Regions from separate parts of the Homo sapiens genome. Here all the other regions are linked to region 5. Evidence: promoter capture Hi-C in 16 types of primary human blood cells and fetal thymus (Javierre and others, 2016). All regions are on one chromosome and are shown on one strand. Each heading gives the region's core, a stretch centred on a gene start or on the middle of the fragment in contact. The rest is flanking DNA. Distances are from core to core; before and after follow the strand shown. Region 1 overlaps SRSF4 (serine and arginine rich splicing factor 4). Region 2 overlaps EPB41 (erythrocyte membrane protein band 4.1). Region 3 overlaps EPB41 (erythrocyte membrane protein band 4.1). Region 4 overlaps EPB41 (erythrocyte membrane protein band 4.1). Region 5 holds the start of PHACTR4 (phosphatase and actin regulator 4).

Region 1 (5,714 bases), core at 1,419-3,918, 800 kb after region 5:
ACTCCTGAGCTCAGGCAATCCACCTGCCTTGGCCTCCCAAAGTGCTAGAATTACAGGCATGAGCCACCATGCCCGGCCTTCTACTGTATTTTAAAGGCAGATGCTTCTCTTCCAGTCCTGTGTACAATCTTTTTTCACTCAATAAATGCTGCTGCTTGACTTAATGATACTCTAACATCAGATAAAGTCAGGCTGTAGTAAAGGTTTTTGATATAATGGGGTAAAGTCTCTAGAGAAAAAAGAAATTGACCTTGGGGCAGGGTGAAGCACCTCTAAGCTGGGGGTATGTGACAACCAGGTTACTTTCACTCGTCTTTTGGTTCCCATTAGCCAGTGTCAGCCATCTGGTCCTTCCGAAAACATGTGTGGGTTCAGAACATAACAGACTAGAAGAATAGAGGAAAAATAAGATTATTCTGTGCAATCCCCATTCTGGAGGTCCCATATCAACCCCCGGAGTCTGTCTTTGCTTCTAAGGCTCAGCAAAAATTAGACCAGCATAAAGAAGATGAAGACTTGGATCTAGACGTGGTGGATGTGAATGAATATTGGCAATATTATGTATTTAGGAATGTATTTAATTAGTTTTGCAAGGAATGGTGACTTGAACCAAAAAATATAAGCGTGAATGGTAGGAGGGAAATGGGCCAGAAATCAAAGAATACTAGAAAGTTTACAGACTTTCAACTATACAAAGGTTAAAGCAGCAACCAGAAAAGTACCATGCAGATGATAAACATCTAAGATGTGATTTAATTTTCATTAACTAAAAACTATTTTTAACATGCAGCCCACTAGGACTCTTCTTCACATTTCTTTGTAATAATTACTACTCCTATTTTTGAAAGTTTTACGATGTATAAAGCATTATGCTAAGTGCTTTACACACATTATATCCATTTAATTTTCACAACTCTGAGGTTTACTGTCATCTGACAGATCAAGAAACTAACTTAGAGGAGTTGAGTAACTTGCCAAGACTATCCCAAAGACCTGGGATTCTTCACACCCAGCTAACCTAAAACCTGCATTCTACCACCACGTTTTAACCGCCTCCTATATACCAATGAAAAGTGGTCCATAAAACCAGAGTTGGAGAAACACAAGCTCTTGCACAGAAAATCAGTTTCATCAAATTATGTGCTGTAGTGTGGAAGACAAATGCCCACAGGAATATAAGCATCTTATGAGAAAGAGTAAGTGGCAAGAAAACACCATTTCTGCATGTGATGTGTGTGTGCTAATACCAGTAAGTTGTGAACATTTATTCTCTACAAGTGGAACCAAACCCATATGCCATCAAAATTTTAATACTAGTCTAGGAAAATAGAAAAAGGTAACAAATCATTAAGAAACTTATATCTCAGCAATGAGAACACAAATATATCAGTGGGAAAATTAAACTCATGATCCTTTCTCATAAAGTAAACCAACTGCTGAAAAAAAATCTCTAATGATGAACTAACCAAACTCAAGCCCATGGTATTGAGTCCACATTGCAGATAACAGCCCATCTCTAACAGAATATATATTCACATAGTAGGGTGAGAAAAACAGAACAATCATTATCCTAAACACCAAACAGTAAAACTAAATCCTCCCAGAATGGGAGGTAGAGAGGAATCTGCATCAAATATGAATTTAGTCTTACTCTGTAACTACTCTATGAGCCTATTTGCCAACTTTGTTTTAGCTATTCAAAACTTTCAAAAATGAACTAAGTCAGCTAAGGTATTTCACTTTTACACTGCAAATAGTTTGTGGATCAAACTATCATTACCCCCTGCAATCATAACTGAACTTTCTTTTTTGATATTTTAAAGTCAACATGGCTTTCCTGAAAGGGAGGGCAGATACAATCATCTGTGTCCATTTCAATTTTCTGACACTTTTCAACACTAAGGATAAATGAAATTGAAAGCTTTCAAAAAAGGGGAATCAACTATTGCCTGATGACAAGAAGTTCGTGAAGACTCAACCACAAATTAAAAACGATTTGAAAAAACTCGAGAGATGAAAGTCACATTACCAATTTAGAATAAAACTCTTGGGATTTAATATAGAATTACTTTATCTGTTATTCCTACTTAAAGAAATAAAGGTTTACACTCTGCAGACAGCACTACCTGATTCCACACAAAAGCTACAAACAAAACCAGTTCATACTTACCTCTTAAACAACACAATGAGCAGGCTGCCAGGTGTTAAAGCTTCATTAAAGATGATGCCTCTTGGATCATCTTGGCTGTATGAGGCACCATGTCCCTCATAATCGCCCCTGGTCCCTGGGCTGGAGTCTGTTTCTTCATTTTCATTTTTGGTTAAAGATGCCACTCCCTATGCTTTTATTAATTAGTGGATGCCACTAATTAAGTATTTTAATGAATTTTTCAAATTCTTTTAAAATGGATGGATCAATAGCTTCATTTCAATTACATGAAAACCTTTCCAAGTCCATGTTTCTGGTCTGTGGTTCCTGACTCCCTTGCCTGAGCCTCCTGCTCTGTCTGCCCTCTTCATTCCTGAAGGCTGAATTCAAACCTCCCTCTTTCAGACTTCCTCTTCTCTCTAGGTCTTGGGGGTCTTTGTTCATGAAGGTCCCCTTTCTGGCATAAAAACCTAAACCCATGGTTGGGGACCTGGGAGAAATAAAGTGCCTTTCAAGCGCTTCTTCAGACATTGCGTGCAGTTCAGAAATCTTTAGCCTGGGAGACTTTCATCTCAACACACAGAAAACTCAAGTAAAACATTTCCTCAAACTATGGGCATACAAATTCAGAGCATAATCTAATCCCTCACCTTCAGGGTACTATAAGACCAGACGGCCCTAGGAATGACAATAAGGCAGAGAACATTTACTTGTACAAATCCTTCCTCAGCCAACCACGATAAAGCTGATACCACCTTACAGCTTTTCAAAGAGTAGCCTGAGGAGGAGAATCACTAGCAGTCTCCAACTAAGGACAACATCATAAAAAATACCATCTGTCTCACTTTTGGCAGTAACTTGTCAGCTTGCTGGAAGCCTCTACAGAGACTAAAGGCTGAACAAGCCCGGAAACCTGAACTACCCTCTCACCCTCAGAGGCAATCCCCAAAGGACAGGACTAAAGGAAATAGCATGAGGGAAGCTTTGAATGTCAATGCCCACATGTATCTAGTATGGGAATTTAAAAAATCTTCTATTTCCGGAGTTGTCAATAACTCATTTTGTAACCTTGGGCCAGTCACCTTATCACCCCATGCCTCAGTTTCCCCATCAGTACAAACTAGGGACAACACTTGTTCATAAAGTACTTTGACATACTCAGTTGAAAAATAAGTCATACAAATGCATTAATATTTTCGGAAGTTTTAAGATTTCAGTGTTAGCTTACAAATTTGTAAGTATCACCCCAACGGTATTCTCTCAGATGCCTGGAGCACCTTTCTTCTGAGGAGCTCAAAGTAAAATTTGCGGTTCTGGGTACCTGGAAGCATAAAAAAATACTAGAAACCCAAACCACATTTTATTACCGAGTCTATATCCTGTGCCTATCTTTTAAGAAGGGACAAATACTTCGTATGGCCCTTAAATTCATACAGTACCTCAATGAGAAAGGAGGAGCAAAACAGTATATTAAACTGAAGAACAGGGATTTTAAATGACTTAGTCAAATAATTACAAATGATGTTTATTCATACCACAAACTGAAGGGACCAAGAACCAAGGAGTGGAGGTCTTGAACCAGGGCAATTTACGCTGTTAACATTTGGTCAAAAATCTCAATATGGTATTATCTCTTGGCATTGATTTTTCAAAATGACAGAAAAAAATTAAATTCCCCATATATTGGGGGAAAAAAATAATACACTTTTTTGGGGGGTAAGTTGACTTTAAAAAGTGACTTTTAATAAAAAAAAATTTGATCACATTTGTAATAGTTATATTACTAATAAAACAATGACAGAATGCTACTTAATTCATAGTCCTATCTCTATTTATTATTCATTCAAGAAAAACTTCCTGATTATTTTTCACTTGGTAAATTAGCATCTTTTATTTTTATTTTTTATTTTTGAGACAGAGTCTCACTCTGTCACCCAAGCTGGAGTGGAATGGTGTGATCTCACACTGCAACTTCCGCCTCCCGGGTTCAAGCGGTTCTCCTGCCTCAGCCTCCCGAGTAGCTAGGATTGCAGGAGCCTACCACCATGCCCAGCTAATTTTTGTAATTTCAGTAGAGACAGGGTCTCATCATGTTGGTCAGGCTGGTCTCGAACTTCTGACCTCAGGTGATCCGCCCGCCTTGGCCTCCTAAAGTGCTGGAATTACAGACGTGAGCCACCACGCCTGGCCAGCAAACACAACAGGGGTACTCCATGCTGTTGAAGTGCCCATCACACGGGCATGCTCATACACTGCGGGTGTTAAGTGTAACTGGTGTAGCTTTTCTGGAAAGTTATTTGGTTATATGCACTGAGATACTTGAATATGTTCACTCCTGCTGTGACACATGAATTTTATTTCATGGAATCCATATGTACTCAGGGATAATAAAAATGCAAACAAAGTTTTATGCACATAATACCCATCACAGGGTTACTTATAACAGCAAGAATTAGGAGACCAAAAAAAAGGTAGACAATATAAGAGGAATGGTTGGGTAAGTCATAATATTGCCATACAATGGATTTTATGAAGCCATTAATAAGGAAGATTTTAATGTAATAGAAAATACATGAGATAAATTAAGTAAAAAAAGCGTGACACAAAATTGCACGTAAAACCTCACCCATCTTAAAAGGATGCTTAATGATACTTTTCACTTTATGCTTTCATAATATCTAAATGATCTACAATTAACCTACATTTATTCTCTAATGAGTCAAAAAGGCTTTTTTTTTTTTTTTTTTTTTTTTTGAGACAGAGTCTTGCTCTGTCATCCAGGCTGGAGTGCAGTGGTGCGATCTCGGCTCACTGCAAGCTCAGCCTCCCGGGTTCACGCCATTCTCCTACTTCAACCTCCCAAGTAGCTGGGACTACAGGCGCAGGCCAACAGGCCCGGCTAATTTTTTTTGTATTTTTTTTTTAGTAGAGATAGGGTTTCACCATGTTAGCCAGGATGGTCTCGATCTCCTGACCTCGTGATCCGCCCGCCTCGGCCTCCCAAAGTGCTGGGATTACAGGTGTGAGCCACCACGCCTGGCCTAAAAAGTTGTTTTTTTTTTTTCTTTTTTTTTTTTTTTTTTGAGATGGAGTCTCACTCTGTTGCCCAGGCTGGAGTGCAATGGTGCAATCTCGGCTCCCGGGTTCTAGCGATTCTCCTGCCTCAGCCTCCTAAGTAGCTGGGATTACAGCAAGTGCCACCATACCCAGCTAATTTTTGTCTTTTTAGTACAGACGGGGTTTCACCATGCTGGCCAGGCTGGTCTCAAACTCCTGACCTCAAGTGATCCGCCCACCTCAGCTTCCCAAAAGTGCTGGGATTACAGGTGTGAGCCACCGCACCTGGTCCAAAAAGTTCTTGAATTTGTTATGCTTGATAGGCTAAATAGACAAGCCTTAAAGGCTGCCAAATGATTTCCTCATATATAATTCTAAACATTTTAATTAGAAAAAATTAGTTTAAAAAATTATAATAAAGGGCACTGTTCAGAAAAGTAGGAACTCTTGGTGGGTGCGGTGGCTCACGCCTGTAATCCCAGCACTTTGGGAGGATGAGGTGGGCGGA
Region 2 (5,237 bases), core at 2,055-4,554, 650 kb after region 5:
AGTCAAAATTATTTTTGTAATAATGCTAAGATGTTATTTGCTTTTTTCACTCTGTTGAAATGGGTGGGGCACAAATCAAGGCAGTTGGAGCAAACTGTACTAAGAGTCACTATATTGTTCTCCAGCATGCACTTGCAGCTGGAAGTGCAAGAAAGCCAGCTTACCTTAGAATTTTCCTAACGAAGCAGCAAAAAGTATTAATTTTATTAAGTCTTGAATACATTTCTATTTAATATTCTGTGTGATTAGATGGGAAGTACACACAAAGCATTTTTGCTGCATACTGAAGCACAACAGTTGTCTCAAGGAAAAGCACTTGTGCAATTGAGTTGTGAGCTGAATTGGCCATCTTTTTTTTTCTTTTTTTTTTTTTGAGACGGAGGCTTGTTCTGTCGCCCAGGCTGGAGTGCAGTGGGGTGATCTCCGCTCACTGCAAGCTCCGTCTCCCGGGTTCACATCATTCTCCTGCCTCGGCCTCCTGAGTATCTGGGACTACAAGCGCCAGCCACCACGCCTAGCTAATTTTTTGTATATTTAGTAGAGACAAGGTTTCACCGTGTTAGCCAGGATGGTCTCAATCTCCTGACCTCGTGATCCGCCCGCCTGGGCCTCCCAAAGTGCTGGGATTACAGGCATGAGCCATCGCGCCCGGTGGCCATCTTTTCTATAAAACACCATGTTTTCTTGAAAAAATGACAAACTATGATTATTCGGACTCGGTTATTTGACACACATTTTCTCAAAAATGAAATGAGCTAGTACTTTTAGGAAAGCAACTGACAGTATTTGTTGCTAATGACAAAATTCAAGCTTTCTGGTAAAAATTGGAATTTTGGAAAACTTTTATATATCCCCATGATCTTGACAGCTTTTAAAGACTTTTCTGCTAAGGTCAGTGGTTATTTTAATGAATGTGTTTTTTTATACACATATTATATCAAGGTTTGGAAGATTTTCATAACTTGGTGAACAAGTATTTTTCAGATTAGAAATGCACAATGTTAAAAAAATCATGCACAGGTAAAAGATCCATTCAAAATGCAAGATAGACCAATGGATTTTAATGTAACAGTACAAAAAGTTCATTGATAAGTTTCTACATTTCACATTGAAAATTATCTTTAAGAAACTGCCATTGATATAATAAAAAAAAAAAAAAAAAAAGAAACTGCCATTGATAAGTTTTAGTGTAATACCAGAAAAGAATATTTTAGGCCAGGCGCAGTGGCTCATGCCTGTAATCCCAGCACTTTGGGAGGCCGAGGCAGGCGGATCACAAGGTCAGGAGTTTGAGACCAGCCTGGCCAATATGGTGAAACCCTGTCTCTACTAAAAATACAAAAATTAGCCAGGCATGGTGGTGGGCACCTGTAATCCCAGCTACTTGGGAGGCTGAGGCAGGAGAATCACTTTAACCTGGGAGGCGGTGGTTGCAGTGAGCCAAGATCGTGCCATTGCACTACAGCCTGGGCGACAAGAGCAAGACTCCATCTCAAAAAAAAAGAAAAAAGAGTGTTTTAAATTCATAGTCACCCCTTTTCAAACTACATGTCTGTGTGAGATCAGATTTCTTCACATACTGCCAAATCAATATATTGCAACAGATTGAATGCAGAAGCAGTTGGGAGAATTCAGCTGTCTTCTATGCCAGACATTGAAGAGATTTGTAAATATGTAAAGCAAAGTTACCTTTTCATCACTGTTTCAGAAAATATTGGTATTTTTCAGAAATTATGTTATTTATGTTAAAAAGTAATGGGATTACCATTATTTTATTTTATTTTGAAATGGAGTTTCACTCTTGTCGCCCAGGCTGGAGTGCAATAGTGTGATCTCGGCTCACTGCAATCTCCGCCTGCTTGGTTCAAGTGATTCTCGTGCCTCAGCCTCCCGAGTAGCTAGGATTACAAGTGCCTGCCACCACACTTGGCTAACTTTTGTATTTTTAGCAGAGACAGGGTTTCACCATGTTGGCCAGGCTGGTCCTGAACTCCTGACCTCAGGTGATCTGCCTGCCTTGGCCTGCTAAGGTGCTGGGATTACAGACGTAAGCCACCGTGCTTGGCTGGATTACTGTTACTTTTTAGAAATTTAATAAACATTTTAAATTTTCCTTAGTTAAAACAATTTTAATATAGTGAATACAAATAGCTATAAGCCACATAAAGAAAAGCTCTTGACCGGGCACAGTGGCTCATGCCTGTAATCCCAGCACTTTGGGGGGCCAAGGCAGCCAGATCACCTGAGGTCGGGAGTTCAAGACCAGCCTGACCAACATGGAGAAACCCCATCTCTACTAAAAATACAAAATCAGCCGGGCATGGTAGCACATGCCTGTAATCCCAGCTCCTCAGGAGGCTGAGGCAGGAGAATCGCTTGAACTCGGGAGGCAGAGGTTGCAGTGAACCGAGATCATGCCATTGTACTCCAGCCTGGGCAACAAAAGCAAAACTCCGTCTCAAAAAAAAGAAAAAAGAAAGAAAAGCTCTTTAGGGTCCTCAATAATTTTTACAATAATTGTTAAGAGAATAAAGAGGTCCTGAGATCAAAAAAGTTTGAGAACCACTGAGTTGGGGCAATAGGGCACCATAGTTAAAATCTTGGGCTCTGGAGTTAGCCTTTCTTTAAATTCAGACTCCATTCCTTGTTAACTGTGTGCCTCTTGGTAAGTTACTTAAGCTCTCTAAGCTTCAGTTTTTTCATCTGAAAAATAAGGGCAATAATGTGAATTTTCTAATTGTTAAATCAGAAAATTTATATAAAGTGATTAGTACAATGACAGTATATAGTGAGAGTTCAAATATCTGCTATGATAATAATAATTCTTGGCTGGGCACGGTGGCTCACACCTGTAATCCCAGCATTTTGGGAGGCCAAGGCAGGTGGATCACGAGGTCAAGAGATTGAGACCATCCTAGCCAACATGGTGAAACCCCATCTCTACTGAAAATACAAAAATTAGCTGGGCATGGTGGCGCGCACCTGTAGTCCCAACTACTCTGGAGGCTGAGGCAGGAGAATTGCTTGAACCCAGGAGGCGGAGGTTGCAGTGAGCCGAGATCATGCCACTGCACTCTAGCCTGGGTGACAAAGTAAGACTTCATCTAAAAATAAATAAATTAAAGGCCGAGCGTGGTGGCTCACACCTGTAATCCCAGCACTTTGGGAGGCTGAGGCAGGTGGATCACGAGGTCAGGAGTTCAAGACCAGCCTGGTCAAGATGGTGAAACCCTGTCTCTACTAAAAATACAAAAAATTAGCCGGGCTTGGTGGCACGCGCCTGTAATCCCAGCTACTCCGGAGGCTGAGGCAGAGAATTGCTTAAACCTGGAGGGGCGGAGGTTGCAGTGAGCCGAGATCGCACCACTGCACCCCAGCTGGGCGACAGAGCGAGACTCCGTCTCAAAAAATAAATAAATAAAAAATATAAATAAATATAAATAAAAAAAAATTCTTATCCTCACTTCACAAGTGATGAATGTATGTGTCTTGGTTTGGAGAACTAGTTTTAACCTTTATCAGAATGTAAACCCAATTAGGTGAAACAATCTCAAGGGACAAATGGATATAGTTCAGCTGATATTCTGTTAGAGATGTGGTAGAAATTGAGCAATAATGGATCGCCGTGACCAGAACATTTAGGAGTCTGTCATCTTGGAATTTACTTGCTCCTTTTTGGAAAGATTTGCAACCCTCACAAACCCAAAGGAACAATTTAATTATGTCCAACAACATGGCATTTTAACTAATCCAAAGAAACTTCCACTGAGGCATATGCATTTTACTATGCATTGGAAAGTGCAGTACAAGCACTTCTCAGATAGAAGACAGCCTGCATAAATGGAATCCTTAGTAGTGGCCCTTTGCCCAGACTGGGATTTTAAAGCTATAATTAACACTTTAAATTTACACTAGCAAATCAAGCTTTAAAATTAATTGCCCTCCATTTATTGGTATTAGGAAGGTATGTAAACTTGTCTATTGTCCCCCACTTAATTCTTTGAAATCACAATCCTTAATTAGGAGATATAACAAACATTATTAAAAGGGAGTCACATAACACTGGAACACACCGAATAGCTCTATCCTGATTGCACTTGCTTGAAATAAATGCAGGGAAACTTTATTGTAACTTCTCTTTTTAATGAGCTTTAACCAGTGCCGGAGCTTCCTGGTCAGGTACTTTTGTAAGCTGCAGTACTTACAAGTAGTAAATTATTAGGTGGTACTGAAAAAATTCAAGACAGTACTTTTAATGGTTTAGAGGTATCTAATCTCTTCCCAGCTGGTTTGTTATGACGCTCAAAGGTCTTGGAAATTTTAGGGAAAACCTTGATCATTAAAATTTAAGGCAAAAAATAATTTATTTTGTGATATTAATCTTTCAAATATATGTGTTGTGTTAACATGCACAGATGTCTGTGGGTGGTGAGATTATATATTTTCTATGCTTTTAATGATATTTTCCAAATTTTATACAGTGAATGTGTATGATTTTTATAATCAGATAAAGCTTTCTGGCAACATTAGGTGGGGCAGAGCAAGGTAGTCATCCATGCAGAGGGGCAGTCTGGCTTGGGATATTGAGGCCTAAGCAGAGTGAGGAGTGGGTCCGTGGGTTGGAGGGCAGCCTGGCATGAAGAGTCAGAGCTCAAGTGGATGAGGATGGTAGTCATGTGTGGGCACCTGGTGGTGGGTTTCAGAAGCCAAGCAGAGCAAGAAGGGCATCCATGTGGGGGAAAAGCCTACACAGGATGTGGAGGGCATCCATACAGGGTGGTGCTTGATGCACAGTGTCAAAGCCTAAGCAGGGTGAAGAGATGGTCCCACACCAGCAGTCAGAACCCTGGTGAGGTAAGGAGGACATCCACGTGTGCTGAGTAGCCCAGAATGGGGAATTCAGGGTTCAAGTAGAGTGAGGAGGACATCCACATACAGTAGGGGTTTGTGGCTGCAATGAGAGATTATATGATTATACAGAGGGATTGATCAAATTAGTCAATGTATTCAGGGTAATGGGAGCCAGGTTTCTCACTGTCAGTAAAGTGAGACACAAATTATGGAAAGGGAGAAACTAAAATGAACCCTGTTAGGATATTGCGTTAAAACTGGAGGCTTCAATGTGAACTTGTGGTTTCCAATATATAGATAGGTAGATATAGAAATATAGATGTAAAAAGGTAGATACATACACAGATACATACTCTAACTCTACATTGTGTCAGAAGGAAGTACTG
Region 3 (5,637 bases), core at 1,942-4,441, 560 kb after region 5:
TTTTTTTTTTTGAGACAGAGTCTTGCTCTGTCGCCCAGGCTGGAGTGCAGTGGCGCTGTCTCAGCTCACTGCAAGCTCTGCCTCCCGGGTTCACGCCATTCTCCTGCCTCAGCCTCCCAAGTAGCTGGAACTACGGGTGCCTGCCACCGTGCCCGGCTAATTTTTTGTATTTTTTTTTTAGTAGAGACGGGGTTTCACCGTGTTAGCCAGGATGGTCTCGATCTCCTGACCTTGTGATCCGCCCGCCTCGGCCTCCCAAAGTGCTGGGATTACAGGCGTGAGCCACTGCGCCCGGCCAATTTTTACTATTTTTTTTGAGACGGAGTTTCACTCTTGTTGCCGGGGCTGGAGTGCAATGGCGCGATCTTGGCTCACCGCAATCTCTGCCTCCCGGGTTCAAGCGATTCTCCTGCCTCAGCCCGCCGAGTAGCTGGGATTAGAGGCATGCGCCACCACGCCTGGCTAATTTTGTATTTTTAGTAGAGACGGGGTTTATCCATGTTGGTCAGGCGGCTAGTCTCGAACTCCTGACCTCAGATGATCTGCCCGCCTTGGCCTCCCAAAGTGCTGGGATTACAGGCGTGAGCCACCGCGCCTGGCACTGGGCCTTCTTTTTTTTTTTTTTTTTTTTTTTTAAAGACTTTATTGAGATATAATTAACATATCATATGATTTAACCATTTAAAGTATACGATTTAATGTTTTTTAGTGTGTTTATGGGGTTGTGCAGCCATCATCTCAATCTAATTTTTGAACATTTTCATCCCCCTGAAAAGAAACTTCATATTCATTAGCAGTCATTCCCCATTCCCCACCCTGCAACCCCAGTCCTAGGTAAGCACTAACTACTTTATGTCTCTCTAGATTTACCTATTCTAGACATTTCATATAAATAGAATTATACAATATGTTGCTTCCTTTTTTTTTTTTTTTTTTTTTAAAGAAACAGAGTCTTACTCTGTTGCCCAGGCTGGAGTGCAGTGGCACCAACATAACTCACTGCAGCCTTGAACTCCTGGGCTCAAGTGATCCTACCGCCGCAGCCTTCTGAGTAGTTGGAATTACAGACACACACCACCACACCAGCTAATTAAAAAAAAAAAAATTTTTTTTTTTATAGAAACGGGGTCTTGTCATATTGCCCAGGCTGGTCTTGAACTCTTGGGCTCTAGACATTGTCCTTCCTCAGCCTCCCAAAGTGCTGGGATTACAGGCATGAACCACTACATCTGGCCCTGAACTGTGTGTGTGTGTGTTTTTTTTTTAATTTGAGACTGAGTCTCTCTCTGTTGCCTGGGCTGGAGTGCAGTGGCACGATCTTGACTCACTGCAACCTCCGCCTCCCAGGTTTAAGTGATCCTTCAGCCTCAGACCCCCTAGTAGCTGGGATTATAGGCACACACCACCATGCCTGGCTAATTTTTGTATTTTTAGTAGAGACGGGGTTTCACCTTGTTGGCCAGGCTGGTCTCGAACTCCTGACCTCAGGTGATCCGCCCGCCTCAGCCTCCCAAAGTGCTGAGATTACAGGCGTGAGCCACCGCACCTGGCCCATTTCATCACCTTTTTTACCTGTAATTTTTCTCTGGCTGAATATGCTTTTAAGAAATAAAAGTTCTCAATAAAAATCCTGTGGTATATTGTACCTTGTGATAAATAATACCCAAGATCCATGATGGGAAGGGAGATTTTTAAACATATCTTAAATACATGATACTGAAAGTATGAGGCAGACTAAATTATTCCATCAGTATTCAGAATACTTATCAACAGAGACTTTTTAGGAAAAAATACAAAATTATGAATACAAAACTAGGGATGAAAACAAATACCTATCTAGAATGAGAAAACCACAAGTTACATATTTTAAAAAGCTGAAAAATAGGCTGAGCATGGTGGCTCATGCTTGTAATCCCAGCACTTTGGGAGGCTGACGTAGGAGGATAGCTTGAGCCCAGGAGTTTCATACTAGCCAGGGCAACATATGATACCACACCTCTACAAAAAATTTAAAAATTAATGGGACGTGGTGGCATGTACCTGTGGTCCCAGCTACTCGGGAGGCTGAGGTGGGAGGGTCACTTGAGCTTGGGAAGCTAAGGTGGTTCTAGCCTTGGCAACAGAGTAAGACTCTGTCATTAAAAAAAAAAAAAAAAAAGGCTGAAAAATAGCACAAATATCACAAAATTTAGAAAAATAGCTTAACATTTTAATTAACTGATATGGTGTCATAGTTCATTTTTTTCTGTATTTTTGGCTTCATACTCCTCTAAAGAGTTTTATATTATGACTTTGTAATTTTTTTTTTTTTTTTGAGACAAAGTCTCGCTCTGTTGCCCAGGCTGGAGTGCAGTGGTGCGATCTCGGCTTACTGCAACCTCCGCCTCCCGGGTTCAAGCAGTTCTCCTGCCTCAGCCTCCCGAGTAGCTGGGATTACAGGCGCCCGCCACCACGTCTGGCTGATTTTTTTTTTTTGTATTGTTGGTAGAGACAGGGTTTCACTGTGTTAGCCAGGATGGTCTCGATCTCCTGACCTCATGATCCACTCGCCTCGGCCTCCCAAAGTGCTAGGATTACAGGCGTGAGCCACCGCGCCCGACCAATGACTTTGTAATATTTTCAATAGAGACAGCACAAAGATAATTCAGTCTTCCTTTTAGCTTGGTGGCCTTGGCAGGGGCCAGTACAAATGAGGGCCCTGAGCTTAAGCTTATTTTAACAGTAAATCTACTTCTGCATAGTAAGTAATCTTAAGAGATGAACCAAGAGGTTGTAATATGCCTAGTCTATATTTTAAGCATTTATTGCAATTGTTTGGTTATTATAAGTTGCTTCATGTGAATCATTTTCTTGGATTTAATGTTCAACTAGAAACTTGTAGTGTTTTGTTTTGTTTTTTGTTTTTTTTGAAATGGAGTCTTGCTCTGTTGCCCAGGCTGGAGTGCAGTGGCACTATCTCAGCTCACTGCAGCCTCCGCCTCCCGAATTCAAGTGATTCTTCTGCCTCAGCCTCCTGAGTAGCAGGGATTACAAGTGGGTGCCACCACACCTGGCTAATTTTTGTATTTTTAGTAGAGATGGAGTTTCGCCATGTTGGCCAGGCTGATCTCGAACTCTTGACCTCAGGTGATCCACTCTCCTTGGCCTCCCAAAGTGCTGGGATTACAGGCATGAGCATCATGCCTGGCCTCTATATTTTTATCTTTTCTTCCAGGAGCCAAAGCTGCTGCTTTTTCTCCTTTTTTTTTTTTATGCTTCTCTCCTACCTCCTTTAAAAAAAAAAAGCAGATATCTTTTTTTTCCCAAATAATTCATGTTATTGTTAATGTGGAGATGAAAAACAGGCCAAACTAGTTATATATTTTCAGTCTAAGATCTTTCTCCTCTGTTAAGTTTTAGACTAGATATTCTTGTTTTGTCAGGCTCTCAGTACATTTTCTCTTCCATGTCAACTCTAATTCTCTTCATCTCTTCTTTTGGTAGTGAAAATCAAGTAGAATATTAAAAGACCATATGCTCTGCAAATCACTTAGAAGCAAACTTGCTCTGTGATAGTATGGCCTTGATATTTGTCATTAATATTATTCGTTGTTTTATTTTTGGGGTAGCTTTCTGGAGGTCAAGGGTTTACAAGTAGAACAAAGAAATATGAGTAGTTAGTGACCGAAGAACTAAAGCTTTTTTCCAGGATTTTCTTGTTTTACAAAGACACGTATAGACATTTTGTTAGATTTTTAAATACCTCAGTTGACAATTTAAATGTTGAGAGCCCAATACTGTTAGTATTGTGAATATATTTGAGTTGAATATATTTGGTATATTTAGTTTGTATATTTAATTTTTTGAAAAAGTTTTGTCTTTATGTATTTTTTTCTTTAACATTTGAGCTTGAATCAATAAAGGGCAGCAACAGAAAAGCATTTTGGATCAAACATATTTGCCGTGTTCACTATATTTTGATGATAAATAGATGGCAACATTTGTCTTTGAGTCTGTCTTGTTCTGCTCAAAAAGCAGAAAAGATAGGAAGAGAGAAATAAGTAAGATTTACTGCACTTTGCTTAATATTCTTACAGCAATAACACACCTTAGCTGGTGGTATTTTCCTTTTATGAATCATAAAGTCAGACTGGGAGAGGTAACTTATCTAAGGTCATGAAGCTAGTAACTGAGGGTGCTAAGACTCAATGTTTAGCTGACTTCAAAACTGATGTGCAGCACTGTGATTGGATTTGGAACTCTCTTCTATTGTGGTTAGGGTAGTGGTAAACTTTCATCCTATTCAGATTTTCACAAGTCATAATTTATTGTCACCTAGGATGACCAGGATTCAATCTAGGCTATCACATTGCATTTAGTGGTTATGTCTTCCTTAGTCTCCTCCAATCTGTGATAGTATCTCCTTGCATTTCATAGCATTGATGCGTTCATAGAGTATCGGCCAGGTGTTTTACAAAATGCCAGTCGGGGTTTGTCTGATTTTTTTCCACGATTAGATAGTAGATTTTTGGGAAGAATACAGAGGTGATGTGTCCTCAGTATGTCATGTTGGGCAAAGCAAGACCTAGTCTAAAAAAACCACACACACGGTTTTAGATTTACAGATTTATTGTGAAGATAGTACAGAGTCCCTATATACCCCACACTGCAGTTTCCTCTATTATTAATATATTAGTATAGTATATTTTTAACATTAGTAAACTGATATTGATACATTATTGTTAACTAAAGTTCATATTTTATTCAGATTTCCTCAGGTTTTTTTCCTAATGTCTTTTTCCTGTTCCTGAATACCATCCAGGATACCACATTATGTCTAGTACTCATTTCTCCTTACAGTTTTCTTGGTTGTGATTGTTTCTCAGACTTGCTTTGTTTTTGATGATCTTGACAGTTTTGAGGGTTGTTGGTCAGATATTTGTAAGATTGCCTCAGTTGGGATTTGTGTGATGTTTTTGTCATTATTAGACTTGATAATGTGTTTTTGGGAGGAAGACCCAGAGAGGTAAAGTATCATTCTCATTACTTCCTATCAAGGGTACATCCTATCAATATGACTTATCACTACTGATGTTGACCTTGGTCTTAAGGTAGTTTATCAGGTTTCTCTGCTGTAAAGATACTTTCCCCCCTTTTCCATACTGTACTCTTTAGATGAAAGTCACTATGCATAGCCCACACCTAAGGAGTGGAGAGTTGTACTCTACCTCCTTGAGGGCAAAATATCTACACAAATTATTTGTAATTCTGCATCAGAGACTTTATTTTTCCTCATCTGTTCAATCATTTATATCAGTGTGGAGTCATACTGATATGGATATTTATTTTACACTTTGGGTTTTAATCCAGTATTACTTCATTTATTTTGTTGCTCAAATTGTTCCAGCTTTGGCCATCAGGTGCTCTTTTGGTTGGCCTCTGGTTCTTTTGACATTGTGTGTGTGTGTGTGTGTGTGTGTGTGTGTGTGTGTGTATTTTAATACTTTCCTACTTTGTGGTACTACAAAATGCTCCAGGCTCATCTTGCATATTTCCTGCCCGGCTCCTAGAATCAGTCATTTCTCCAAGGAGTCCCCATTCCTTTTATTGGATAATGGCATTAGAAACCAAGATCTGGCCAGGCACGGTGACTCAAAC
Region 4 (5,758 bases), core at 1,415-3,914, 680 kb after region 5:
ATGTATTTATTTTTGAGGTGGAGTTTCACTCTTGCTGCCCAGGCTGGAATGGCGTGATCTCGGCTCACTGCAACTTCTGCCTCCCAAGTTCAAGCGATTCTCCCGCCTCAGCCTCCCAAGTAGCTGGGATTACAGGCATGCGCCACCATGCCCGGCTAATTTTTGTATTTTTAGTAGAGACGAGGTTTCACCATGTTGGTCAGGCTGGTCTCTACCTCCTGACCTCAAGTAATCTACCTGCTTCGGCCTCCCAAAGTTCTGGGATTACGGGCGTGAGTGAGCCACCGAGCCTGGCTGACAATTTATAATTGTATATATTTATGGGGTACAAAGTAATTGTCTTAAGTTTTTCAAAGAACCAACTTTTGGTTTTGTTGTTTTTTTCCTATTATATATAGTTTAACTCATGCCAGCTGATATCTTTATTATTTTCTTTTTTTGAGACGGAGTTTTGCTCTCGTTGCCTAGGCTGGAGTGCAATGGCGTGATCTCGGCTCACCGCAACCTCTGCCTCCCAGGTTCAAACAATTCTCCTGCCTCAGCCTCCCGAGTAGCTGGGATTACAGGCATGCACCACCACGCCCGGCTAATTTTGTATTTTTAGTAGAGACGGGGTTTCTCCATGTTGAGGCTGGTCTCGAACTCCTGACCTCAGGTGATCCACCCACCTCAGCCTCCCAAAGTGCTGGGATTACAGGCGTGAGCCACCGCGCCCGGCCTATTATTTTCTTTACGCTTTTATTGAGCTTTTTTAAAAAAAATTCTTGAACTAGATACTCATTAATGTTCATTATTTCTTACAACTTAACCTTAGAATGTAAGTGACTTGCCTAAGGTTACATAGCTAGTTGGAAAGAATTAGAAGGGAATCCGGGACAATTCTCCTAGGCCCATGCTTTTTACTCTTCACCATGATGACTTCTTTTTTTTAGAAAGAGTAGAATAAAAGTTAATAGTCAATATTCCTTGAGCACTTAGTATGTTCCAGGCACTGTTCTATCTTTTAAGTATCTGAAGTGCATATAAACTGAATAGGACAATTTTTTTTTGTAGTTCTGTTTTTAAATGTCTTATTTTTCTCTTTGTACTATAGTATAAAAAGTGGAAATATGTCTGTGTAACTATTTTTCCCTCCTTTCCTTAGATACTTCTCTGTGCTCCTTAAAAGATACTTTTTCCCGTTGAGTCACCCCTCCCTTTTCAAAAGATTAATATAACTCTGTAAGCTAGAGATGGTGTATCAGGGAAACTTTTACAAGAATTGCTTTATAAGGGGTCTTATTTTAATGATAAAAATGAGCATTCCCTTCCTCTTCTGTTATGTGTGGTGCTTAGAGCATCTGCTTCACCAGCTGGAGTACCAAAACTGGTTCAGATCCCAGTTTTATGATAGAGTAGTAAGTTGCAAGCGTAGCTAATAATGATGACAAAGATTATATTTTTCTTGCACTTTTTGCTTTTCAAACCATTTCCATGTATTCCTATTTAATACTAGCAACTTAGTCAATAAGAGAAAACATTTAGGAATTACAGTTTTACTCATGAGGAAACTGGAGCACAAAAGAAAGGGCCACACAACCAGGTAGTTCATCCATTCAGTGAGCAGTGGTTACAGTGATTCTTGCCAGGGGTGTACATCCTTATCACCTTTGGAGCTTTAAAACAAAACACATGCCCAAGCCTCACTCTTGGATAGCTCATCTCACTAGAGTGGGCCTGAGCATCATCTGATTTTTTTGTTTTTTGTCTTGAAAAACAAACATTGTATCAGAGGACACAAATGATTTATGTGGTCCTCTGATAAAAGAACCACCCTACCGCATACTAGCAGAAATTGTGCTAGTAAATAACAGCTAGAAGTAGAAGTTGTTTGCCTTTACTCAGTCTGATGGTTTGAATTTTATTCTTTACTGCTGTAGTATATAACTATCTAAGTTTCTGTTGTCAGCCAAGAGCAATATAGTATTGAAGTTAGTGGGTCACCATCAGCATTTTTCTTTATGTAGACCCTCAGATATGGGAGATACTGGATTTTTAAAGTTATGTATTGTCTATATATGCACCAAAATCTTGTAAATATTAACAGCTGAATTAATAAAACTGAAGACCCACACATCTTAAAAAGCAATCCTTACCCCCAACACTGTGAATATACTAAAAAGCATTGAATTATATATTTTAAATGAGTGAACTGTGTGGTATGTGAATTGTATCTCAAAAAAAGCTGTTAAAAAAAGCCATGATCACTACCATGATATTATAGAGTTAATATCTTCCATATTTTACAGATGATTAAACTAAAGTTTGTAAGATTAAGCTCCACGCCTTAGGCACACTACTATATGTGACTGAGTGTGGGCCTAAGACTCGTGATTTGGCTTTTGCCTCTGTTCCACGCAGCCTTTCACAGCCAGAGCTTTTTATTGTAATGTTATTATTTTTCCAATCTGTGAACTCTGTTTCTGTCAGTTTCCACACTAATACCTTCTTTTCCACATACAGTACAGATTGCCAAGGCTAGGAATGCTGAAGACATAAATCATTTGGCTCTGCAGTATTAGTACTGGATTGAAACCAAAGACAAGTGGCAAAATAACACATGGTGAAAGCATGGGCTAAGTTTCTATGATGCCAGGCATAGTTGAATTAATTCTTTGAGAGGAGGTGTGAATACACATGTATAATGATACTTAAACACAACTGTGAGCAAAATATTTTGTCACATTCCCCTGTGTTGTCAGGTTTGGTCTGCCATCTGCCACTCTTGCAGTGACTGCTTAAAGCACCCATTAGTAGTAGCTCTGTGCTAATCCAGAGTTATTACTACTAACCCAGTAGTAGCAATCTGTGCAAGAGGCCGCAGATTTTTCATGGAAAGATAAAGGAGATCCTTTTTTTTTTTGAGACAGAGTCTTGCTCTGTTGCCCAGGCTAGAGTGCAGTGGTACGATCTCGGCTCACTGCAAGCTCCACCTCCTGGGTTCAGGCCATTCACCTGCCTCAGCCTCCCAAGTAACTGGGACTACAGACGCCCGCCACCACGCCCAGCTAATTTTTTGTATTTTTTAGTAGAGATGGGTTTCACTGTGTTAGCCAGGATGGCCTCAATCTCCTGACCTCGTGATCCACCCACCTTGGCCTCCCAAAGTGCTGGGATTATAGGCGTGAGCCACCACGCCTGGCTGATAAAGGGGATTCTTGAATTTCTGCTGTTTTTCCTATATATCCGCTAAGGAATTAGTTCTTTCATTGGAAATTATGACAGAGTAATGAGCATTTCTTTCTTTTTCTTTTTCTGTTTTTTTTTTTTTTTTTTTTTTTTTTTTTGGAGACAGTCTGGCTCTGTTGCCCAGGCTGGAGTGCAGTGGCACGATCTCAGCTCACTGCAACCTCTGCCTCTCGGGTTCAAGTGATTCTCCTGCCTCAGCCTCCCGAGTAGCTATGACTACAGGCGCCCACCACCACACTTGGCTAATTTTTGTATTTTTAGTAGAGACGACGTTTCACCTTGTTGACCAGGCTGGTCTCGAACTCCCGACCTCAGGTGATCTGCCCACCTCGGCCTCCCAAAGTGCTGGGATTACAGGTGTGAGCCACCGTGCCTGGCCAAGCATTTCTTTCTTAATATTGTTGTATGAAGTAGTTGGGAATTTAAAGTTTTTATCTGTTCAGATTCATGGAATTCCTTTATCTGATCCTTACAGTTTACAAATCTAAAAATTTCAGGATGAATCATGTTCAGTTATAGTCAGTTTAAGAATGCAGGAAAGTCTATAATAAAAATTATTGATTTCCATGCAAATTGATTAAAATATAAGAGTCTTGGCTGGGAGCGGTGGCTCACGCCTGTAATCCCAGGACTTTGGGAGGCCAAGGCAGGCAGATCACTTGAGGTCAGGAGTTCAAGACCAGCCTGGCCAACATGGTGAAACCCCATCTCTACTAAAGATACAAAAAATTAGCCAGGCATGGTGGCATGTGCCTGTAGTCCCAGCTACTGGGGAGGCTGAGGCAGGAGAATCACTTGAACCTGAGAGGCGGAGATTCTAGTGAGCCGAGATCATGCCATTGCACTCTAGCCTAGGCGACAGGGCAAGACTCCATCTTAAAAAAAAAAAAAAAGTCTCAGTACAAAAGAGGATAACAATATGTTATCAGAAATACTAAATCATGCACAAAAACACTTTCATTCCTAGATACTGTCAGATAAGTGAAGTTTTATTACAAAGTGTAAATGTTTTATATCCCTGAAAGAATGAACATAAAAACCATAAAAAGAGTATGAGTGATTGTTTTGAAGTAAGCTGTCTAAAACTTAGATACCAAATATTCCAAAACAACAATTGGCTCTTTGAAAAGATCAAGATTTTATCATAAGTCTGTATAGTTTATTCTCTCTAAAACAGTCTATACAACTTTTCCCCTAAATTAAGGTTTCTCAACCTCAGTAACTTCAGCCTCTATGCACTGGATGCCAGTACCTCCCGTCTCTCCCCTCCTCTGTTACAACAACCAAAAATGTCTCCGGACATTGCCAGATATTCTCTGGGGACAATTTACTCCAGTTGAGAACCACTGCCCTAAACATATTAGAGAATAAGAGCTGTAATACAAATTGGTAAGGCTGAGAGATAGTAGGACAGAACTCAAAAGATATTTTTGTTTAGGTTTGAGGACTGACAGTCAAAGATTTTGAATTTGTGTTATTTTAATCAAATGATTTATTATTAAAAGGGAGAGCATCTGGTTCAAATATTTGTCCTTACAAGCATCAGAAAGTAGTTCATGTCTTACCAGAAGAGCCATTTATCAAGTTATTTTGTAATCATTCCAAGGAGGCTTACAGAAGAAATCAGACTTAATTCTTTTTTCTTACAATATATTTTTAGGTTCCTGAAATAACCTAAAAATGAACACATCTTTATTTTTAAAATGCCTCATGGAAGAAATCACATTTAGTTAACCCTTTTTTTCCTGCCATAGACAACATTGCAGGTTTTTGAAACTAAAATTACGAGATAAATGGATTTTCTATTTCTTTTCTTTGATCTTGTCTCCCCTGAATTCAGCATTCATGGAACATGATCATTAACACATTTTAGCCTTTCTACTGAGGGTACATTTAACTTCCTTGTTGCTATCAGTTCCCTGGCAGAGCACTAATGATTTATTTTTTACCCTCTGTGTGATAGCCCACTACACACTCTAACATTCGTGTGTATCCTGGATTCACAATTATTTTGCCTGGTGACTTTGAAATAATACAGTAGCTCTGGCCTTTACTTATGCTTCCCTTTTCCCTTTCTCACATAGCAGCAGCTGTCGATTCGGCAGACCGAAGTCCTCGGCCCACTTCTGCACCTGCCATTACTCAGGGTCAGGTTGCAGAAGGTGGCGTCCTAGATGCCTCTGCTAAAAAAACAGTGGTCCCTAAAGCACAGAAGGAAACAGTGAAGGCTGAAGTGAAAAAGGAAGACGAGCCACCTGAGCAAGCTGAGCCAGAGCCCACAGAAGCATGGAAGGTATGTCATCAGTCCAAATACCTAGCTAACTCACTTTCTGATTTAGAGGCCTTAACTTTTTGACCAGGAACGTTTTCAAAGCAATTGCTTATTCTCATAGACTCAACAAAGTTATTCTTCATTCTTTCTAAATGAAGATGTCTCCCATGAACCTATAAAATATTTTCGTAGAGTTATGTCAGTAAGACTGTAAGCTATCTCAGAAGTTATAAGGTGACCCACTCCTTGACCCAACTA
Region 5 (5,982 bases), core at 2,376-4,875:
AAAAAACCTGCCAAACCAGTTTCCAAAGCGGTTTTATCACCTTAAAATGGTACCATCAGTGTATGAGAATTGTTGTTGCTCTACATTCATGCTAATACTTGGTATTGCCAGTCCTTTCAGCCATTCTGGTGGGTGTGTAGTGTAATCTCATTGCGTTTCCTTTTTTCCCCCCAACATCTTTCATGTTATTTGCCATCCATTTAGTTTCTCTCTTTGGTAAATTGTCTCTGCTAATTGTTTTTCAAATTGGGTTGTTTGTCTTCTTGTTGAGTTGAAATAACTCTGTATATTTCCAGGTAATGGTTACATGTTTTGCGCAATTTTACTCTGATCTGTGGCTTGTCTTCATTTTCTCTCTCTTTCTCTCTTTTCTTTCTTTCTTTCTTTCTTTTTTTTTTTTGACGGAGTTTTGCCCAGGCTGGAGTGCAATGGCGCAATCTCTGCTCACTGCAACCTCAGCCTCCTGGGTTCAAGCAATTCTCCTGCCTCAGCCTCCCAAGAAGCTGGGATTACAGGCATGCACCACCACATCTGGCTAATTTTTTTGTATTTTAATAGAGATGGGGTTTCACCATGTTGGCCAGGCTGGTCCTGAACTCCTGACCTCAGGTGATCCACTCGCTTCAGCCTCTGAAAGTGTGGGGATTACATGGGTGAGTCACTGAGCCTGGCCAGCTTATCTTTCTTTTCTTTTTTTTTTTTTTTTTTTTGAGACGGAGTCTCGCTCTGTCGCCCAGGCTGGAGTGCAGTGGCACAGTCTCCGCTCACTGCAAGCTCTGCCTCCCAGGTTCACACCATCCTCCTGCCTCAGCCTCCCGAGTAGCTGGGACCACAGGCGCCCACCACCACGCCCGGCTAATTTTTTGTATTTTTAGTAGAGACGGGGTTTCACTGTGTTAGCCAGGATGGTCTCGATCTCCTGACTTCGTGATCTGCCCACCTCGGACTCCCAAAGTGCTGGGATTACAGGCGTGAGCCACCGCGCCCGGTTTTATCTTTATTTTCATAACAGTCTTGACTAAAGTTTGAAATTTTGATGATATACAATTTATTCAATTTTTTTCTTTTCTTTTCTTTTCTTTTTTTTTTTTTTGAGACGGAGTCTCGCTCTGTTGCCCAGGCTGGAGTGCAGTGGCAAGATCTCGGCTCACTTGCAAGCTCTGCCTCCCGGGTTCACGCCATTCTCCTGCCTCAGCCTCCCGAGTAGCTGGGACTACAGGAGCCCGCCATCGCGCCCAGCTAATTTTTTGTATTTTTAGTAGAGATGGGGTTTCACCGTGTTAGCCAGGATGGTCTCAATCTCCTGACTTTGTGATCCACCTGCCTCGGCCTCCCAAAGTGCTAGGATTACAGGCGTGAGCCACCACGCCCGGCAATTTTTTTCTTTTTAAAATTTATTTATTTATATTTTAGAGATGGAGTCTCACTGTGTTGCCCAGGCTGGTCTTGAACCCATGGTCTCAACCAGCCCTCCAGCCTTGGCCTTCCAGAGTGCTGGAATTACAGGCATGAGTTATCATGTGTAGCCTATTAATTTAAAAAAATATATTTTTTAATTTTATTTTTGAGACTGAGTTTCCCTCTTGTAACCCAGGCTGGAGTGCAATGGTGCGATCTCGGCTCCCTGAAACCTCCGCCTCCTGGGTTCAAGCGCTTCTCCTGCCTCACCCTCCTGAGTAGCTGGGATTACAGGGGTGGGCCATCACGCCCAATAAATTTTTGTATTTTTTTTTTTTAAGACGGGATCTCGCTCTGTTGCCCAGGCTGGAGTGCAGTGGCGCGATCTCAGATCACTGCAAGCTCTGCCTCCCGGGTTCACGCCATTCTCCTGCCTCAGCCTCCCGAGTTGCTGGGACTACACGCGCCCTCCACCACGCCCGGCTAATTTTTTGTATTTTTAGTAGAGACAGGGTTTCATTGCGTTAGCCAGGATGGTCTCGATATCCTGACCTCGTGACCCGCCCGCCTCAGCCTCCCAAAGTGCTGGGATTACAAGTGTGAGCCACCGTGCCCGGCCAATTTTTGTATTTTTAGTAGAGATGTGGTTTCACCATTTTGGAGAGGCTGGTCTCGAACTCCTGACCTCAGGTGATCTACCAGCCTCAACCTCACAAAGTGCTGGGATTACAGGCGTGAGCCACCGTGCCAGGCCAATAAATATATTTTAAATATTTTTTTGAGACAAGGTCTCCCTCTGTCGTCCAGGCTGGAGTGTAGCGACACCATCACAGCTCATTGCAGCCTGGACCTCCCCAGCTCAAATAATCCTCCTATTTCAGCCTCCTGAGTACCTGGGACTACAGGCACGTTCCATCATGCCCAGCTAATTTTTAAAATTGTTTTTGTAGAGATGGGGCCTCACTCTGTTGCCCAGGCTGGCAGGCTGGTCTCAAACTCCAGGGCTCAAGGGATCCTCCCGCCTTAGCCTCCCAAAGTGCTGGGATGAGAGGTGTGAGCCACTGCACCCGGCCAATTTTTTTTTCTTCTTTTTTCTTTTTCTATTGAGACAGGGTCTTGCTCTGCTGCCCAGGCTGGAGTGCACTGGTGCGATCTCGACCCCCCAGGCTCAAGTGATCATCTCACCTCAGCCTCCCACGTAGCTGGGACTACAGGAGCTTGGCACTAGGCCCCGGATAATTTGTTTGTTTGTTTGTTTGTTTGTTTTGCGACGGAGTCTTGCTCTGTCGCCCAGGCTGGACTGCAATGGCAAGATCTCGGCTCACTGCAACCTCCGCCTCCTGGGTTCAAGCGATTCTCCTGCCTCAGCCTCCTGAGTAGCTGGGATTACAGGCATGCGCCACCGCGCCTGGCCAATTTTTTTAATTTTATGGATAGTGTATTTGAAAAGTCACATCGATTTTTCTCCTGGAATGTCCTCTAGATGTGCCGTAGCTTCAAGTTTTACATGTAGGTCTAATTTAGGTTGTGTGATACAATGGGTTTGCATTTAGAAGGGTCCTCTGGCAGCAGCAAGGAAGGTTTTCGGAGGGTGATAGCCTAGGGCCTGAAACTACTGAGACTTGGAGAGAAGTGATGGTGGCTTTCACTAGGTGATAGTAGTGAAGGATATCGAAATGAATTAAAATACTGGGGATGTAGAATGACTGGACTTAATGGCTTGAGGGAAGTGTCCAGAATGATTCCTGGGTTTCTTACGCACAACACTGAGGGTAGATAACTTGCTTGTACGTTTTTTGCACTTCAAATTGGTCCTCAATAAATAGTTTTTCCTTTGGGGAGGTTATGATTGAAATTTGGCCAGTCAGGGATACAGTTTTCTCAAACAACACTCTTGTATCAGTTCCCTTTTTGGGTACTGCCTGGAGCCCAGTATTGAACCCTGTCCTCCCAAGCCCAAAGACCTTTGCCTCCCATAGTACCAGGAAAGGTGCCCAAGTTCTTTTACACACAAGGTGCGCAGAGCGGCCAGCGCATGCCCAGAGAGGTCGTAAGGAGGACGACCGCCCGGAGAGAAAGGACGCACGCTTCCCGCCATTTTGTTCAGCTTGCCGGGCAACCGGCCCCTGCTGGGGACTACAAGTCCCGTAAGCCTCCGCGGCGGCACGTCCTACCCTACACTGTCCAGCCGGCTCCCTTTTTCCCCCTCCCCGGGGGCCAAGGGCTCCGGCTGCTGCCTGGCGGCCAACGGGCCAGGTAGGATTTCCGGGAGAGGCTGCTGTGGAGGCTGAGGAGGCGGCGGCGGAGATCTGGGTAAGTTCAGCGAGCAAGGGAAAGTGAGCAGGACGCGCTCAGTATCAGGCTGCGGCCTCCTCTCAGGCTGCGGCCCCTTTCTTGGCTCTGCGAGAGGGTCCCGGTCCGGGCAGAAGGTAACGGCCCGGGTCGCCGTCGCTTCGGGCCAGGGCGGGGCGGGGCCGCCGCCTCCCTCCTCGGCCCTCCCACAACGGTCCAACCCGGGCTTCTCCGCCTGAGGCAGGGCCCGCGCAGGCTCGCCCTCTCCGCCCCCCGAGACTTGGCTGGGCCCTTTTGTCTGGGCTGCGTTGCTCCCCCTTTGTGTCCGTGCATGGAGTCTCCGCCACGGGGGAGCCTGTTCCCCCGGTCCCCAACAGGGACTGCTCCCTGGGGATCCGGTTACAGTAACCGGATCGGGTCAAAGTACATTTTTCAAAACCGTCCTGCCTCAGACCTCTGCACCCCTGCTGGGCAGAACGGGGGCTTCGGAGCCAGGCGGAGTTTCTGTAAAAACCTGGAGGTTATTATTTAACTTTCAAACATCAGCCTGGGCGGCTTCAGGGCACGAAACTCCCGACGTTTTTCTTGGTGGAGAGATGAGATTAAGGAAAAGAAGCGACCCCTCTCTCCCACCCTCTACACCCCGGCTCCGGGAAACCGGGAAGGCATCGAATTTGCTGCGATGTCTGTGCAGCTCACATCTGTGATCGGTGGACCAAAGAACCAGTGGTGAATGGTAGAATGGCAGTTCACGCACCTCCCAAATCTCGGAGGAGAGTGACTTACAGGGCATCACTGATTGCTTGCAAAAAAAAAAAACCCTCCAGTGCTTCATTCGGACACTCAGCTCCTCGCTCCTTCCAACCTCTTCCTTTTCTTGTTCTTTTTAAAACAAACAGTGGAAGGAAAAAGTCCTTCAGTGGAAGAATTTGCTTTATAGAGGAACCAGAAACCCAGTGGCTTCTAGAAGTCACTTACTTTTTCGCCAAATTAAAGAAATGAATTTCGGGCGTGGTGGCGCGCGCCTGTAATGCCAACTATTCTGGAGGCTGAGGCAGGAGAATCGCTTGAGGCCAGAAGTTCGCGACCAGCCTGGGCAACACAGCAAGACCCCATCTTAAAAAAAAAAGGAATGAAGCCCGTTTAGAAATGAAGCCAGTTTAGGGGATGAGGTGTGGTAGATTCTTACCGGAAACCGCGGAACTGCGTGGATTGTGGATTCGATCAAATTTGGCTAGATAATGGTAACTGTGTATGTCCTCCTGTTGGAAGACTGCATTGCTAGAATCAGCTTAAGGTAAAATTTGTTTGTTTGTTTCATTTAAGAGACAAGAGTCTAGCTTGGTTGCTGAAGCTTGAGTACAGTGGAGAGCTCCTAGTTCACTGTAGCCTCGAACTTCTTGGCTTAAGCCATCCTTCCACCAGAGGCTCCCAGATGCCTGGGACTAGAGGCATGAGCCACTGTGCCCGACTATTTAATTTAATTTATTTATATTTATTTATTTATTTTGAGACAATCTCACTTTGTTACCCAGGCTGGAATGCAATGGCACGATCTTGGCTCACTGCAACCTCCACTTCCCAGGTTGAAGCGATTCTCCTGCCTCAGCCTCCTGAGTAGCTGGGATTACAGGTGTGTGCCACCATGCCCAGCTAGTTTTTGTATTTTTGGTAGAAACAAGGTTTCACCATGTTAGCCAGGCTGGCCTTGAACTCCTAACCTCAGGTGATCCACCCGCCTCGGTCTCCCAAAGTGCTGGGATTACAAGCGTGAGCCACCGTGCCTGGCCAATTTTTATGTATTTATTTTTTGAAATAGGGTCTCGCTGGGTTTCCCAGGCTGGAGTGCAGTGAGTTGAGCACTGCTCACTGCAGCCTGGACCTCCTCCTGGGCTCAAGCCTCTGCCTCCAGAGTAGCTGGGACAACAGACACAGGCCACCAGCGCAGCTAATTAAAAAAATTTTTAAAAAAATTTTTGTATTGATTGGGGTCCCACTCTGTTGCCCAGGCTGGTCTTGGACTCCTGGGCTCAAGTGATCCTCCCTCCCAAAGTGCTGGTATTAAACCTTAAGATAAAGAATACTGTATTTGTTTTTTGAGATAGAGTCTTGCTCTGTTGCTCAGGCTGTGCAGTGGCGTGATCTTGGCTCACTGCAACCTCTTCCTCCTGGTTTCAAGCGATTCTCCTGCCTCAGCCTCCCGAGTAGCTGGAATTACAGGCATGTGCCACCACTCCCGGCTAATTTTTTTTTTTTTTTTAGTAGAGATGGTGTTTCACCGTGTTGGCCAGG

The links. Contacts are between HindIII fragments. The CHiCAGO score rates a contact against its expected background, and 5 or more counts as called.
Region 1: a contact is called between a fragment that was not itself captured here and the fragment with the promoter of PHACTR4 in region 5, in 1 of 17 cell types (naive CD8 T cells). The highest score is 6.3, in naive CD8 T cells.
Region 2: a fragment that was not itself captured here is called in contact with the fragment with the promoter of PHACTR4 in region 5 in 5 of 17 cell types (total CD4 T cells, non-activated CD4 T cells, naive B cells and 2 more); the score reaches 7.6 in total CD4 T cells.
Region 3: a contact is called between a fragment that was not itself captured here and the fragment with the promoter of PHACTR4 in region 5, in 1 of 17 cell types (total B cells). The highest score is 6.0, in total B cells.
Region 4: a fragment that was not itself captured here is called in contact with the fragment with the promoter of PHACTR4 in region 5 in 4 of 17 cell types (naive CD4 T cells, total B cells, total CD4 T cells and 1 more); the score reaches 6.6 in naive CD4 T cells.

What each region holds. Positions count from the first base shown.
Region 1 is chr1:29,168,253-29,173,966 of GRCh38, forward strand. The region is part of intron 1 of SRSF4 (serine and arginine rich splicing factor 4); the gene reads right to left. It also overlaps a transcript of MECR not described here. Among named protein-coding and RNA genes, the nearest start is that of SRSF4, 11 kb to the right of the region's middle. The HindIII fragment of the contact is 921 bases long and covers 2,209-3,129 here.
Region 2 is chr1:29,021,228-29,026,464 of GRCh38, forward strand. The region is part of intron 7 of EPB41 (erythrocyte membrane protein band 4.1); the gene reads left to right. Among named protein-coding and RNA genes, the nearest start is that of TMEM200B, 100 kb to the right of the region's middle. The HindIII fragment of the contact is 1,236 bases long and covers 2,687-3,922 here.
Region 3 is chr1:28,929,233-28,934,869 of GRCh38, forward strand. The region is part of intron 1 of EPB41 (erythrocyte membrane protein band 4.1); the gene reads left to right. The region is part of intron 1 of LOC124903886 (a long non-coding RNA gene); the gene reads right to left. Among named protein-coding and RNA genes, the nearest start is that of EPB41, 17 kb to the left of the region's middle. The HindIII fragment of the contact is 968 bases long and covers 2,708-3,675 here.
Region 4 is chr1:29,047,792-29,053,549 of GRCh38, forward strand. EPB41 (erythrocyte membrane protein band 4.1) reads left to right here. Exons shown (of 21, transcript NM_001376013.1): 12 at 5,313-5,521. Among named protein-coding and RNA genes, the nearest start is that of TMEM200B, 73 kb to the right of the region's middle. The HindIII fragment of the contact is 7,587 bases long and covers 1-5,758 here.
Region 5 is chr1:28,366,115-28,372,096 of GRCh38, forward strand. It overlaps PHACTR4 (phosphatase and actin regulator 4), which reads left to right and starts at 3,626. Exons shown (of 14, transcript NM_001048183.3): 1 at 3,626-3,711. RefSeq lists enhancers at 2,798-3,753, 3,404-3,698 and a silencer at 3,780-3,999. The HindIII fragment of the contact is 7,867 bases long and covers 1-5,042 here.